Regions from separate parts of the Homo sapiens genome. Here regions 1, 2, 4 and 5 are each linked to region 3. Evidence: promoter capture Hi-C in 16 types of primary human blood cells and fetal thymus (Javierre and others, 2016). All regions are on one chromosome and are shown on one strand. Each heading gives the region's core, a stretch centred on a gene start or on the middle of the fragment in contact. The rest is flanking DNA. Distances are from core to core; before and after follow the strand shown.

Region 1 (2,700 bases), core at 173-2,672, 900 kb after region 3:
GCTGGTAGAGATGAGAGAACTGGGCCTAAGGAGTGAAACTGTGTTTTTGTTTGAAACAACTAATGTATTACGAAAACCAAAAAGATAGCCACCGGTAATAGGACAGTATACGAACAGAAATGTACCAAAATTAATGCAGTCACCATGTAAATCCCTGAATAACCAGACTTCACAGTCTTAATATTTTTAATCGAGTTACCCGGATTCTCTATGTGTACTTATTTGTAAAGCCCAACAACCTAGCCTTCCCTCCCCACACACAATTATTTAACTGCTTTAAAACTTTCGCTGCATTGTCTCTATGTAAAACAAAACACTCAGATTCATTCTTTTGAAAATTCAGTTGTGACAAAATTGTTTCGAAAGGATTACATTCTGGGAAATAAATAAAAACACTTTGAGAAACTGTTCCTGATTCAGACCGCACCCCCTTAGACCAGCCAAGTTACGGCTCCCCTAGGGTCATCTTGAGTAAGTGTTTGCTTTCCTCGCTCTGCTAAAAAGACGGATCTCTTGGGAATCTCTCAAGGAGTAGGACGGTCGTCACCACAGGCTCTGAGCTGAAGAGGTTAATAGGTACCGTGTATTTTCTAGAAGAAGGGCAGGAAAATGCCCTTCACTTCACGTAGGCCACGGTCATGACCACAAAATGAAGGGAAGCCGAGACTTCAAGCTACGCCAGTCGGAAGGCCACAGTGGTGGCGAGGAGGCCTCAGGGGGGCAAAATTGGGAAAGGGAGAGAGGTGAAAGGGGACAAGAGGAAATTCAGGAGCCCGACTAAGACCGTCGTGTTGGGGGAAAGATCACTCCGCTATGAAGAGGAAAGGCTACTGCTAGCAATGACGAGTCGTCAAAAGTGGAGAGGAAAACTACCGGCTTACAAGAAGAGCCAGGACCGGCGGACGAGACGATGGCGGACCCCAGTAAAATAGAGCCGTTGTCCTTCAGGAAATGGGGGAGGGTGAGCGAAGAGGCCGCGGCGCGCGGGGGCGAAGGCGGCCGGGGAGGGCCGCGGAGGGCCCAGGGCCCCAGGAGCCGTGGGGTGGGGGCAGCGAGCGCGAGCGGGGCGGCTGGGGAGCCCCGCACCAAAGCCAACGCCCAGACGGCCTTGAGGATGCAGACTCGGAGCCGGGGGCGTGAGGCCTGCGGGGAGGCGCCCGCCGGGCCGGGGAGGGGCAGGGGGTGCGGCCGTCCCCCTGCAGGTCGCTCCCCGTGACGCCATCTTGGATCGGTCCAGCTCCCGCAAACCGGCTGCGAAGCGACGAAGCTCACCTCGCCTGAGCCCCCGGCCGACCCCACTCACCTGGGGACGGGCGGCGGCGGGCGCGAGGCTGCGGGTGCGAGGCGGCGGCGTACCGAGCTCCCTCAGCGCTTTGCTCCCAGCCCCGCTCCACTCTGCGATAGCGGCTAGGCGACAGCTCCACCGGAAACGGCCTGGCCGCAGCCAATCAGCGTTCGGCTACTGACGTCAATGCGCCTCGCTCTGGCCAGAACCGTCGCCTTAGCAACCTTAAGGGCGCAACAGCCCCAGTTCCTCCCCCCTGGTCGCTCTTGGAAGGACCCTCACTCTGCGGTCGTTCGTCTTCCGCCATTCTTTCCATCTTACTCGTCCCTTATCCACAGCAGTTTCCTCACGCCCGCCACTTCTCCTTTCCGCAGTCTCCCTAGCCCGGTTCTCTCCTCCTTCCTGCTCACCTGCCCCTCCTTACCTGTCCCTCTCTGGGTGTCTTGGGTCGCCTTTGTTCCTCCGCCTGCTCTTCGCTCTCTCTCCGCGCAGCTATCGTGCGCTTCCCTCTCGTCCCTCCGCTCCTCTGTCCACCCCACTCTCCCTCCGGCCTCCCTTGACGCCTCTGCCTTTTCTCCCTCCTTTCCACCCCCTCCCTGGCCGACCCACGTGGGGCGTCTCAGATGACAGGTGGGCGACTCCTCCCCGCAGCCCCTGCAAGGGAGGGCCCCGGGCCGGGGCGGGGAGAGTCCTGTCGCTGCCAGCCCCCGGAGGAGGTGGCGGCCCCCGCGGATCTGCAGCAGCTGCGCTGCGGGGCCGAGCGCGGGCGGATGGCCGGGATGCGCTCTCCGGGCCGCGCATCCTGTGCCCGGCCAGCGCCGCCCGGGCCCCGGGCTCAGGTCAGTCATCCGGTCCAGGAAACCTGAGCCCTGCCGAGTCTCCGCTGGGGCCGCTCTCCCCCGCCGGGGGTGCTGTCGTCTGTGCAGGCAACACCGTCCCTGTGGAAACCAGGCACGGGAAAGGACTTTGTCAGGGTCCAAGAGGAGGCCTGAGTCCTTCTAGAACCTGAAGTGCCCCCCCATCACTCCTGACCTCACAGAGGGAGAAGTGCAGAGCGTGCAGATTGTCAAAAATGCCCTGTGACCCAACAAGAAATCGCAGCTGTCCAGACAAGCTGCACTAATGGGGAAAATTCGGAGGAAAAGCGACTTTACTCTTTCAGCCATTTTTTTTTTCCATCAGAGTATCTGTCTAAGGAGGAAGAAAAGGGAGACGGTACAATTTTAGACACATCAAGTCTGTAACTCAATAAAGAAGGCCCATCAAGGAAACATGTCCAAGTGTCTGGCTAGGGGCTGCTTTAGTAGCATTGTATATATTTCTAGGGCCGTGTGCTTAAAATTCATAATGGATTCAACACAATACAAAAAAGCAAAATACACACATATGCAAGTGTCCAGGAGCTGTTGTAGTAA
Region 2 (2,700 bases), core at 142-2,641, 880 kb after region 3:
TCTTAGATAGACAGATCGATAAATAGACAAATAGACAGATAAAAACGTACCTTTGGGGACAAATTAAATGGTTATCTAGCCATTGCTTCTTGATGTTGTCTTAGCCCATCTAAACATACACTGCCAGGGCCTAACATAAGTACAAAAGGTTCAGCTATTATTTGTGGTTAGAGATAAAGTAGTATGAAGAAAACTGACATGCTACTTCAATTTTTAAATGTCAATATTTAAATCATTAAAAAATAAAAGAAACAAAAAAAAGAGTCTACTTGGGCCACTGTTTAGAGAGAATTCAACTATAACCAGGACTGTCAACCCAGAGAAATTTTCTTTAGTTACATTTTATTGTGACTCTAAAGGTTTCATACTCCAGAGGACGGGGGGAAGGGATTACTGAATCTAGAAAAGGTACACATGTTCAAAGCAACACAATTTAAAGAATGCTCTTCTAACATACAACATATCTCCAATTTCACTGGATGTGAAGAAATACCAATACACTAATGAATACAACTTAATCATCTCACTCCTCAGAAATCTAAGAGCATCAGAAATAAGGCTTTATATATGAGGCTTTATATATGCAAAATATAAAAGTATCCCTAAGTAACATTAAATGTATATATTAAATTTAAACCAAAGAGTATGCTAATCTAGAAATGATGTTTCCCCATTAAGTCTGGGAAAGTTCCAAGGCCACAGAACCAATCTGTCTTCAATCAAAAGGAAATCTTTAGCTTTTGACTGAATTTTTTTCTTTCCATGACTAAGTAAATAAATCTGCTACATCTCAATTACCCTTTAAGCAAGATTTTGAGATCCACTCTTTGACAAACTGAAAAGCACTGAAAATAAACATTGCTCTTTCAAAACACCGATCCCATAATTCACTTTCCCCCTTTTCATTTTTGCCCACCCGAGTAGACTTTCGGGGAAGGACAGAGAGAGGAAAGACGGAAAGGAGAAAGGGAAGAAAAACTGATTCATTTAAGAATTTAAATTATTTCATCTCTTTTTATTACTTGACCTACCATTAAGACAATCTATAACAAAAAAAGTATATTAGCACACATGGTATAATCAGACTGGTAATCAGGAAGCAATACAAAACGGTCCTTTGGCCATCTATACTTTCTAGAGCAGTAAATCTCATAAATTCACTTACCAAGCCCAGGAATAATGACTTTTAAAGCCTTGAATATCAACTAAGACAAATTATGCCAATTCTGATTTCTCACATATACTTAGATTACACAAAGATAAAGCTTTAGATGTGATCATTGTTTAATGTAGACTTATCTTTAAAGTTTTTAATTAAAAACTACAGAAGGGAGTAAACAGCAAGCCAAATGATTTAACCAAATGATTTAAGAGTAAAACTCACTCAGAAAGCATTATACGTAACTAAATATACATGAGCATGATTATATACATACATGAAACTGCAATTTTATGGCATTCTAAGTAACTCATTTAAGTACATTTTGGCATTTAAACAAAGATCAAATCAAGCTTTAAGCTTGTAAGAACGTAATTTTCATTTTTAATTTTTTAAATATAAAAAGGTAGCTAAACACAAAGTACAGATCAGAAACCCTCATTTAATATAGATTATTTTGGAAATTAAAAAATTTGTAACAAGGTGGCTTTCTTACCCACCCTAAAATGTAAATAAAACCTCTTCCCCAGATTTATACTTCATACTTGGTAACAACCTAAAAGTTTTTCAAATCTATGAAAAAAATCTACCATGACCAATTTAAATTACCTGGGAAAGGGCAGGAGAAGGGATCAATAACAGAGTCAGTTAGTTGCACACAGATGGAAAAATGCTTGCAGTCACTCCCAAATATAACCCTACATTACCTTATATATAAATCACAATGAAAATAAAAGTGCCTACATTACAGAACTGTGAAATTTTGTTTAAAAAAATAATAAAAATAAACTGTTGGGTATCATTGGAATAATGTAACACATAAGGCTGGAAAATACTGAAATACAGTTAAGACTCAATACACAAGTTTACTTTAAAAAAGAAAAGAAAGAAAAGTTTGCCAGAGAAATAAATGCTAGATAGGAAAGCAGGACTTTCAGCAGGATAGCCTTTCAGACCAATTTGAAGCAACACAGACACATTATACCCTACCATCAACCCACCAGAAATTCTAGCTGAATAAAAAGGAAGGAAAAAAAGACTAAACCAAAGTAAAAAACTTCTTCCAAAATCTCATGCCCCAGTGAATGTCACGGGGAAAATTCCCGACACTGAACTTTGTCCGCCTGGCATTTCTCCCTTTAGCAGCATCACCTCTATTTCTCTGTTAGGACATTTGCTCCATCTGTATCTAGTCACAGCAAATCCAATCTCCTGGAATCAGTTTAATGAGCAGAGGAGATTATACTGGAGTCAGCTGAAGGACATACTTTAACCAAACGCTCTAAATTAACAACCAAGAATGTAGACCTCAAATTCTTATTCTCAATTCAGCATCTGATCAATTATTTGGCACTAGCTGGATAAAGGTCTAATCGGAATTTGTGAGCCGAGGCAGATGTAGTTAAATACTAACCAATATTTGCAATCTATGAGTTAGTTTCAAACTTAAAAGGCAGGTATAGATAGCCATACTCAAAAGTATTTCAGAATTGGAGAAGAAACATTAATAACAAGATATAAATAAAACCAGGCAGATTAGC
Region 3 (2,700 bases), core at 28-2,527:
ATATCAGGAATTTTTTAAATCCCCTTCCCAGGGTGACATTAAGCCTGCAAAATACAACTGTGTTTAAAAACAAAAATTAAGAAAAGAAAATAAAAGAACATAAAGAAAACAACCATAACGTGAACTTCCAACCTATTACAGCTGACTAAATACACGCAGTTACACACTTAAAATATTTCATTATGCTTGTCAATGAAACAGTGCAGTCCCTTCACACTACTGTAATGCTTAAAAGTACAGTTTTACCCCCAATATTTTCCCCCAAGATGCAAAGCATCCCCCAAATGGGCAGACATAAAACATTAGGTCTTCACTGCTGCTTCTAAATTTTGCGAGCCAATAAGCAATTGGTGTAAAGTGCAAAATCTCAGAAGAGCAAGACTCGTCTGCTTTTTTGTGATATGCTGTTATTCACCCTTCACCTTTACTTCCTTTAAAAATCAAAAGTTACCTAATGTTCAAGGCGATATCAATGGAAATTTAGCTAAATACTGGCACCGCAACGGTCTATTTCCCCCAAAGAATATAAGATTACATTAATTTCCTAGTAGTTTAACTCAAGTTTTACCTTTCATCTTCACCTATAGAGTTTTTAAAAGTTTCTATTCCTGTTGCATACAAAATTACTTACAATATCTGTGCATAGTAAAGAATTTTACAATTATATAAAGCCTTGCACATTTAGACGCTACCAACCTGCTCTGTCTCTCCTGACTGTGCAAAAGGCAAAAAGAGCTCAGTAATCCTAGCAGAAGAATGCAAATAACGTCAATGCACAGCTGAACTGCAAGCCCTGCCTTACAGGAACTCTCTGTGTCTGCAAAAAAAGACACATACTAAACAGGAAATGCAACTGAGCTGTGGAAAACCTCAAACTTAAAAATGCACTCGCCAGGCGAAAATTGCATCCATGCATTCATAAATGCATGCACAACCCTTTGCATTTTTGCAACTAATGCAAACAGCCTCTTACCTTTCGACTGAGACATTTTCCCCTTTCCTTTGATGGGGGAGGGGAGCACAAAAGACTTTGCCTTGCTTCTCTTCTGTAGCTAGTTTTGCAACAAAGATGCAAGCTGCAGGCGTGCAATCTTCATGCAAGTGGAGTTTCTCTTGACCGATGCAGCAGATGGACTTTCAGGGAATCAAGATGGAAATGCACACCTTGCAAAACAGACTGGAAAGTGATTTTTCCCCCAGTTGCAACGTTAGGGAAGGCTGTGCTGCAGCTACATGATGGGCCAGGGCTGGCAGCTAAAAGCTCCAAACTTGGAACTGAGTATCTTAGTGCGCAGACGTCCTTCCTGCGAAGGGCGCGAAGGCCGCTGGGTAATGTAGTTCTCCGGCGGAGTCCACGGGGCTCTGATTTAAGGAAACGTGGTCGCCCCGGTCGCTGAGCGAGATAACTGGGTGCGACAAAGATTGCGTCCAGATAAACAAGTCAGACACACACTCAGTAGAGTGATGGGTGAAAAGCGGCAAGGCCAAGACGGGGCGGCAGTTTTGTTCTCGAAAAGCCTCTGAAACAACAGCTAAAGAATATTAGGTTAGCTAAAGAGCTTTTGGCTTGTCGAGAAGGTCTGTTTGGGAGTTTAGTGTGTTGATTTTGCAGCTCAGCACCTGTTGTGCTGTTCTTGCCTGTAGACGTTTTACCCTCACACCTCCGTTTTTTGTTTGTTTGGGGGTTTTTTTGTTGTTGTTGTTGTTGTTTTTTTCCCGAGAGGGAGTCTCGCTCTGTCGCCCAGGCTGGAGTGCAGTGGCGCGATCTCTGCTCACTGCAACCTCCGCCTCCCGGGTTCAAGCAATTCTCCTGCCTTAGCCTCCCAAGTAGCTGGGATTACAGGTATGCGCCACCACGCCCGGCTAATTTTTAGTAGAGACGGGGTGTCAACATTTAGCCAGGCTGGTCTCGAACTCCTGACCTTATGATCCGCCCACCTCGGCCTCCCAAAGTGCTGGGATTACAGGCGTGAGCCACCGCGCCCGGCCACACCTCCATTTTTAAAAACATTTTTTCTAGTAAGAAAAATGTATGGATGATTGGGTTGGCTGGAGGTAAGGTTACCTTTGCTCTGTGGAGAAGATGCAAAGTTTTATTTTGTCAGAAACAATCCAGGTCAGTTATTTCCAAGGAACCCGAAACTCAGTAGGGGGTAGGTGTGGGGAAGAAGATTGGAGGCTTCTCATTTCTCACAGGGTTACAGAGGAAGTTCTGCTTTTTATACATCAACGCTAACTTTATCAAAATTAAGGTATCTAGATGATTTTTTCTCACCTGGGAGGAGAGTCCCTGGCCTAGGGGGAAAGTGGGTGGAAAATGAATACAGTCGAATATCTTGAATTTATTCATTAAAATTAAAAGATACTTGTTGAGTGTCCAGGATGTGCCAGGCGCCTTTCTAGGGCCCTGGGATGTTCATTCATTCTGTACCGCTCACACATAGTGGGTACACAGCACCCTGATGGAGAACGGCATCACCTTTTTCACAAGGAAGCCAGAGATGCTTAGCACAATTCACTGCAAGGAATGGAGAGGAGTGAGCAGGGCATGGGCAAAAATGAGCTCGGACTTATACTTCATGGAGCAGACAGACTCAGAAATGTTCTTTTAAGACAGAGGGAGGAATTGAGGAATTCAAGGAGGTGTGGACAAAGCACTGTGGCAGAAATAAGGACAACCTTACTCAGAAGCTGCCAAGG
Region 4 (2,700 bases), core at 64-2,563, 750 kb before region 3:
GCTTCTTCTGAAATATGCTTCCTCCTGGACTTCTAAGAAACAGGCCAAAAGTTTAATTATCCCTTAAAACATGTTAAGCCTAAATAGAAAAAGGAAATTAATCATTTATAGATTTTCTCTTCTTTATTATGATTCAGTTGGTGCATCTGTAGATGGCTAAGAATTTTCCAAACCACGTGAATTCAGAGAGGCAACACTTTTGTTGTTGTTGTTTTTCCAGGTAATGAGCTCGCTTTGAAAACCAGTCACTCGGAAAGGGATGGCATTTTTATGCAACTTGGATTGAAATGGTTTTGCTTTAGTATTCTACTCTAATTAGAAAGAATACACCACAGGCCGAAATAGTTTCATATGATAGGAAAATCTTTAAAGAAAGGAACACAGAGTTATTAGATTATGGTTGGCTGTATAAATTTAGCTGGGCAGCGGGAGGAAGGTCATAATAAATGTATCCTGCTCTCTCTCATCAATTATCAGCAGCACATCCCCCAACATTCTCTCCTCCCAAAGACTGAAGGATGTGCAGCAAAGCTTAGATCTTGAAGGAGAAGGTTCGGGAAAAATTAATGATTTTAATTAGAACTTTCCAATCTAAGTAGAATCATTACCTTAATTAGCTAAATAAGGAAGTATGAAGGATGAAATTTTGCAAATGAAATTTTGTAAATGTATGGTAGCGTAGAATACCCCCATTGCTTCATTTTAAAAAAAGAAAATATAAATGCATTTTAATTAATAAATGACTTTTCATCATGTCCCTATTAGGAAAATTCTGTGTGCCAATGCTTTCAGTGTTTGATTTAATACATCTTTTGAAGTGATGCGTGATGCAGATTTCTGTATTCAGAGTCTATCTTTTTTGGCTGAATCAGGCCTTATTTAGCAAAAATCCCCATTAGTCTTGGACACGAATGCAATTGGGTGTTGGGATCCATCTGTGGATTAAATTTTTCCAAGGAAATGACAATTATGCTCTTACTGATTCTCTCCACGGTAACCACCTATAATATTAGAGCCAAATATTAGTCACAATCTGGATCTGCAGTCAGATTGTGAATAGCTGTGTGACGCAGAAGGTGATTGTTTCACTAGAAGCACAGATCTTTCCTTTGCATTTATATAAAGATCCCCAACAATTAGACATACTTTCAGACTTACATTAACCATGTATATGCAGTTCAAATTCACAATGGTAAAACATCAAACGCTCCTGGCATTTGTATCCACTGGATATTAAAAACCACTTTCTAATCTTCAAAGTAATCATCATTAGCAATAAATAGTAAATAAATCATTGTCAGATTGCCCGGAAATGTAGACAGGCTGAGTTTGCAATCTGCTGCTATGAGAACAAGCCACTTACTGTGGTATTTTAAGGCACTGTATGTAATCTTATTTATTGGAAAACAGTTTTGGCCTTTAGTTTCACTTACTGCATTGATAATATTTAATCTTCATATTTTTAAATTCAGTGAACGTATTTGTTGAAATAACTACGTTGTACTTTGGCTATATGCTAGGTGAGATGAAAGACAGAAGTGTCCTAGCGGGAGTAATTCCTCTTCTTAAGAGTTCAAAATGTCTAACTGAGAAGATGAACAAGGCAGAAGTGAAACATTTAAATGATTAAACAACAATATAAGGCAGCTTATGATTATGCACTAAAATGGATCAAGCAACAAATAAAACGATAATCTTAGATTTTGAAGAATGGAATGAAGCAGGGTAAGACTTTGTAATGGAAGATTTAATACATATGACATATTACTATGTGTAGTGGTATTAAGGATGCTGAGAACACGTCAGAAGATAGGAGTGGCTCCTCATTCAGTTAATTTCTTAAATGCCTGCTATGCCCCAGACCTTTCTATATACAGGTAATCAAGCATATGAATTATAAGTTGTTTCTAAGAATAAATGTCAGTTACATGGAAATGAATGAAAGGAACAGTATGTTTTAGTATAACTTTTGATGATTACTCAATATGATTATAATAAACATAAGCTATTTCATTTTTTACCTGCAATACAGTAGGCCTATCAGGTTACAGTAGAGCCTTTTCTCCTGCATTAAATGACCCTAGACTAAGCTTATTTAAGCCCTTCTGCTTGTTTTCCCTTCTCCATCAATGTGAGCCTTCCGTTCTCATTTTTGCTTCTGATAATGTGCCTTGAATCTGTCAGACTGTCACCATGCTCTGCCTAATTTGTTGATTCTAATCTGTGCTGGGCTGATAAATTATGTAACCAAGGTTGCTAAAGTAATGTACAAGCAAATATGATTTAACATATCTAAAGATGCATTTTTGAAATAGTATGAGCAGATGCTGAATTTGGAGTTACCTTCGCTTGGTCAACCTCCTTTTTGGGTAAAAAAGCTTCAGGATTTGGATTTATGGCATCTATTTTGCTTCTCAGAGCATTTAAATGGCTTAGTCTTTGTATTTGCTGTTATAAATAGCTGAGGAAAACTTCTGAGTAAGTGAGATACCCGCGTGTTTGCAACTATCCATATGTTTATATGTACACATAAAATCATGTACTGATGTATTGAGAAAATATTTCAGTGCTTACTTTATCCGTTTATTATTATGACCTTTATTTTCCATCAAATATGTTAAAACCAAAATCAATAAGTGGGGCTGTTCTTTAAGAAGCTCACACTTCCAGAGCCTCCATGTTATTATTTAGTAAATTACC
Region 5 (2,700 bases), core at 184-2,683, 640 kb after region 3:
TACCCTTGCCCCCCAACCCCGCCAGGTCCCTGTGTGTGATGTTCCCCTCCCTGTGTCCATGTGTTCTCATTGTTCAACTCCCACTTATGAGTGAGGACATGCAGTATTTGGTTTTCTGTTTCTGTGTTAGTTTGCTGAGGATGATGGCTTCCAGCTTCAACCATGTCCCTGTAAAGGACATGAACTCATTCTTTTTTATGGCTGCATAATATTCTATGGTGTACATGTGCCACATTCTCTTTATCCAGTCTATCATTGATGGGCATTTCGGTTGGTTCCAAGTCTTTGCTATTGTAAATAGTGCTGCAATCAACATACTGTGCATGTGTTTTTCTAGTAGAATAATTGTCAAATGCTGTTGGAAGCAGAGATCCCATATCCTTTCTACCATTTTTGGCCCAACCTAAAGTGCCATCTATGGGGGGATAGTTCTGACTAAGAAGTGTTTATTTCAAGAGATGTCAGAGAGAAACTATACTTTTGGTTTCATGGGAAGTCTTTACTTCCATGCAAGGATGCTGGAACAAATTTTTCCAATCTTTTTTCACTCTGCTATGGAAAAATCTACATGCAACCAAGGAGGTGCTCATTGTCCCTTCTGCCCATGCTGAGCAAAGGATGAGATGCTTTCTGTTCACAAATTGCTACAACCACAAAGTGTGACAAAATAAGAAATTTGAAAAGTAAAAGGGCCAGACGAAAAATTCAAAGAACTTTTCTTGGGCTCCCTTTGAAAATAAGAGCCATTGCTTTCTGTACCTCAGTAAGTCTTGTACTTTTGCACATTTCTAAGACACCTTTGGACTTTTACAAAGAAGTCTTTGCCCCCACCTGCCTCTAGGGACTTGTGTAATCACAAATATTCTAAAGGTATACACATTCATTGAATTTGTGGTGGCCACATCCTTCTGTTCATCTAGCTATGATTATGGAGAAGAGAAAAGTCTCAGAGGAGTTCAATCTGAAGCTTGGACACACCATTTGTGCCTCTCTTTGGGATCCTGGAAAAAAAAAAACCAAGGATCAGAAAGCTGAGGTGATGCCCTGGGCAGGATTCCCCCAAGTAAACTTCCCACCTCATCCCCCTAGAAGTTTGCTCTCCAAAAGTTGAAGAAGGCTCTCCTTTCTATGTCACTGGGCTCTAAGCACTGGGATTACCAAAGTTTATTTTCAACAAGCCTTAAAATCTAACCCCTTATTGGCCTTGTGAACAGGGCAGGCCTCTTACAGAGGGTAGAAGCGGAATGGAACGACACACATTCAGCCTGTACTGGAGATTGTGGTAGCCACTCGGCCTCATGAGCAAATTCCCAGCTCTCACTGTTAACATCCTCCCACTTCTTCTTACAAGCTTCTCTCTTGCTTTCACTCTGTCTCAATCTTTCTTAAAGTGAAATCCTCAACTCTAGCCCCAGGAATCTAAAGGAAGAGATTCTAGCAATAGTCAAGGCTATCATCGATGATTTCTCCTCTCCAGTGGGCATTTACAGTCAATACTGAACCCAGAAAGCTTTCTTAATTTCTGCCCTCTTGGGATGTCGCTCCTTGGACTTACTGATGCTTTTCGAATAGTGAAAACATTTTAGGCAAGGGGAAACATTGCCCTCTACAGGGCGTATGAATCTCAACGTTTTAAAGGCCATCACTCAGCAGCACAGCACATGTGATTTTCAGGGATTCTTCATTCTTCCTCTACTTTTAGGTTAATACAGCTGGTGACAATCTTTTTTTTTTTATTTTTTATTTTATTTTATTTATTTATTTTTTTTTTGAGACGGAGTTTCGCTCTGTCGCCCAGGCTGGAGTGCGGTGGCGCGATCTCGACTCACTGCAAGCTCCGCCTCCCGGGTTCACGCCATTCTCCTGCCTCAGCCTCCCGTGTAGCTGGGACTACAGGCGCGCGCCACCATGCCCGGCTAATTTTTGTATTTTTAGTAGAGACGGGGTTTCACCGTGTTAGCCAGGATGGTCTCGATCTCCTGACCTCGTGATCTGCCCGTCTCGGCCTGACAATCTTGTTGGCTAGAATGACTTCTGCACACATTTATTGCTCATGTATAAAGAGAAAGAGAACGCCAAGAAAAAATTTTAAAGTTCCATTCTTTTTGCAAAAACGTGTTGATGCAATACTTCCCAAAATCAGGCGAAGGTGAGGACATTTTGAACTTGAAGTTGCTGAGGGTCCTTCAGTGGTGCTGGGAAAGCTAAATCCTGTCAGTCCATTTCATAACACCACACAGCTAACAGGAAAGGGAGTGTCATGGGTTTTTCAGGTTTTCCTTCCAGGTCCTGTATAGAAAATAAGAAGCTATGTCTCTGCATAGCAAAAGAAACTACCATCAGAGTGAACAGGCAACCTACAGAATGGGAGAAAATTTTTACAATCTACCCAACTGACAAAGGGCTAATATCCAGAATCTACAAAGAACTTATACAAATTTACAAGAAAAAATCAAACAACCCCATCAAAAAGTGGGCAAAGGATATGAACAGACACTTCTCAAAAGAAGACATTTATGCGGCCAACAGACACATGAAAAAATGCTCACCATCACTGGCCGTCAGAGAAATGCAAATCAAAACCACAATGAGATACCACCTCACACCAGTTAGTATGGCGATCATTAAAAAGTCAGGAAACAACAGGTGCTGGAGAGGATGTGGAGAAACAGGAACACTTTTACACTGTTGGTGGGACTG

Evidence for each region. Contacts are between HindIII fragments. The CHiCAGO score rates a contact against its expected background, and 5 or more counts as called.
Region 1: the fragment with the promoter of PRKAR1A here is called in contact with the fragment with the promoter of MAP2K6 in region 3 in 4 of 17 cell types (activated CD4 T cells, total B cells, erythroblasts and 1 more); the score reaches 7.8 in activated CD4 T cells.
Region 2: a contact is called between a fragment that was not itself captured here and the fragment with the promoter of MAP2K6 in region 3, in 1 of 17 cell types (activated CD4 T cells). The highest score is 5.7, in activated CD4 T cells.
Region 4: a fragment that was not itself captured here is called in contact with the fragment with the promoter of MAP2K6 in region 3 in 1 of 17 cell types (naive B cells); the score reaches 7.2 in naive B cells.
Region 5: a fragment that was not itself captured here is called in contact with the fragment with the promoter of MAP2K6 in region 3 in 3 of 17 cell types (M1 macrophages, total CD8 T cells and naive CD8 T cells); the score reaches 6.1 in M1 macrophages.

What each region holds. Positions count from the first base shown.
Region 1 is chr17:68,511,152-68,513,851 of GRCh38, reverse strand. PRKAR1A (protein kinase cAMP-dependent type I regulatory subunit alpha) reads right to left here and starts at 1,422. Exons shown (of 11, transcript NM_002734.5): 1 at 1,304-1,422. RefSeq lists silencers at 952-1,461, 1,882-2,241 and enhancers at 1,532-1,621, 1,375-1,948. The HindIII fragment of the contact is 13,629 bases long and covers 1-2,700 here.
Region 2 is chr17:68,531,057-68,533,756 of GRCh38, reverse strand. It overlaps PRKAR1A (protein kinase cAMP-dependent type I regulatory subunit alpha), which reads right to left. Exons shown (of 11, transcript NM_002734.5): 11 at 326-2,700. Among named protein-coding and RNA genes, the nearest start is that of PRKAR1A, 20 kb to the right of the region's middle. The HindIII fragment of the contact is 247 bases long and covers 1,268-1,514 here.
Region 3 is chr17:69,413,274-69,415,973 of GRCh38, reverse strand. MAP2K6 (mitogen-activated protein kinase kinase 6) reads right to left here and starts at 1,277. Exons shown (of 12, transcript NM_002758.4): 1 at 974-1,277. The coding sequence starts at 989. The HindIII fragment of the contact is 8,167 bases long and covers 1-2,700 here.
Region 4 is chr17:70,165,081-70,167,780 of GRCh38, reverse strand. It overlaps KCNJ2-AS1 (KCNJ2 antisense RNA 1), which reads left to right. Exons shown (of 1, transcript NR_036534.1): 1 at 1-820. Among named protein-coding and RNA genes, the nearest start is that of KCNJ2-AS1, 3.0 kb to the left of the region's middle. The HindIII fragment of the contact is 1,559 bases long and covers 534-2,092 here.
Region 5 is chr17:68,770,932-68,773,631 of GRCh38, reverse strand. No RefSeq gene overlaps it. Among named protein-coding and RNA genes, the nearest start is that of LINC01482, 140 kb to the right of the region's middle. The HindIII fragment of the contact is 159 bases long and covers 1,354-1,512 here.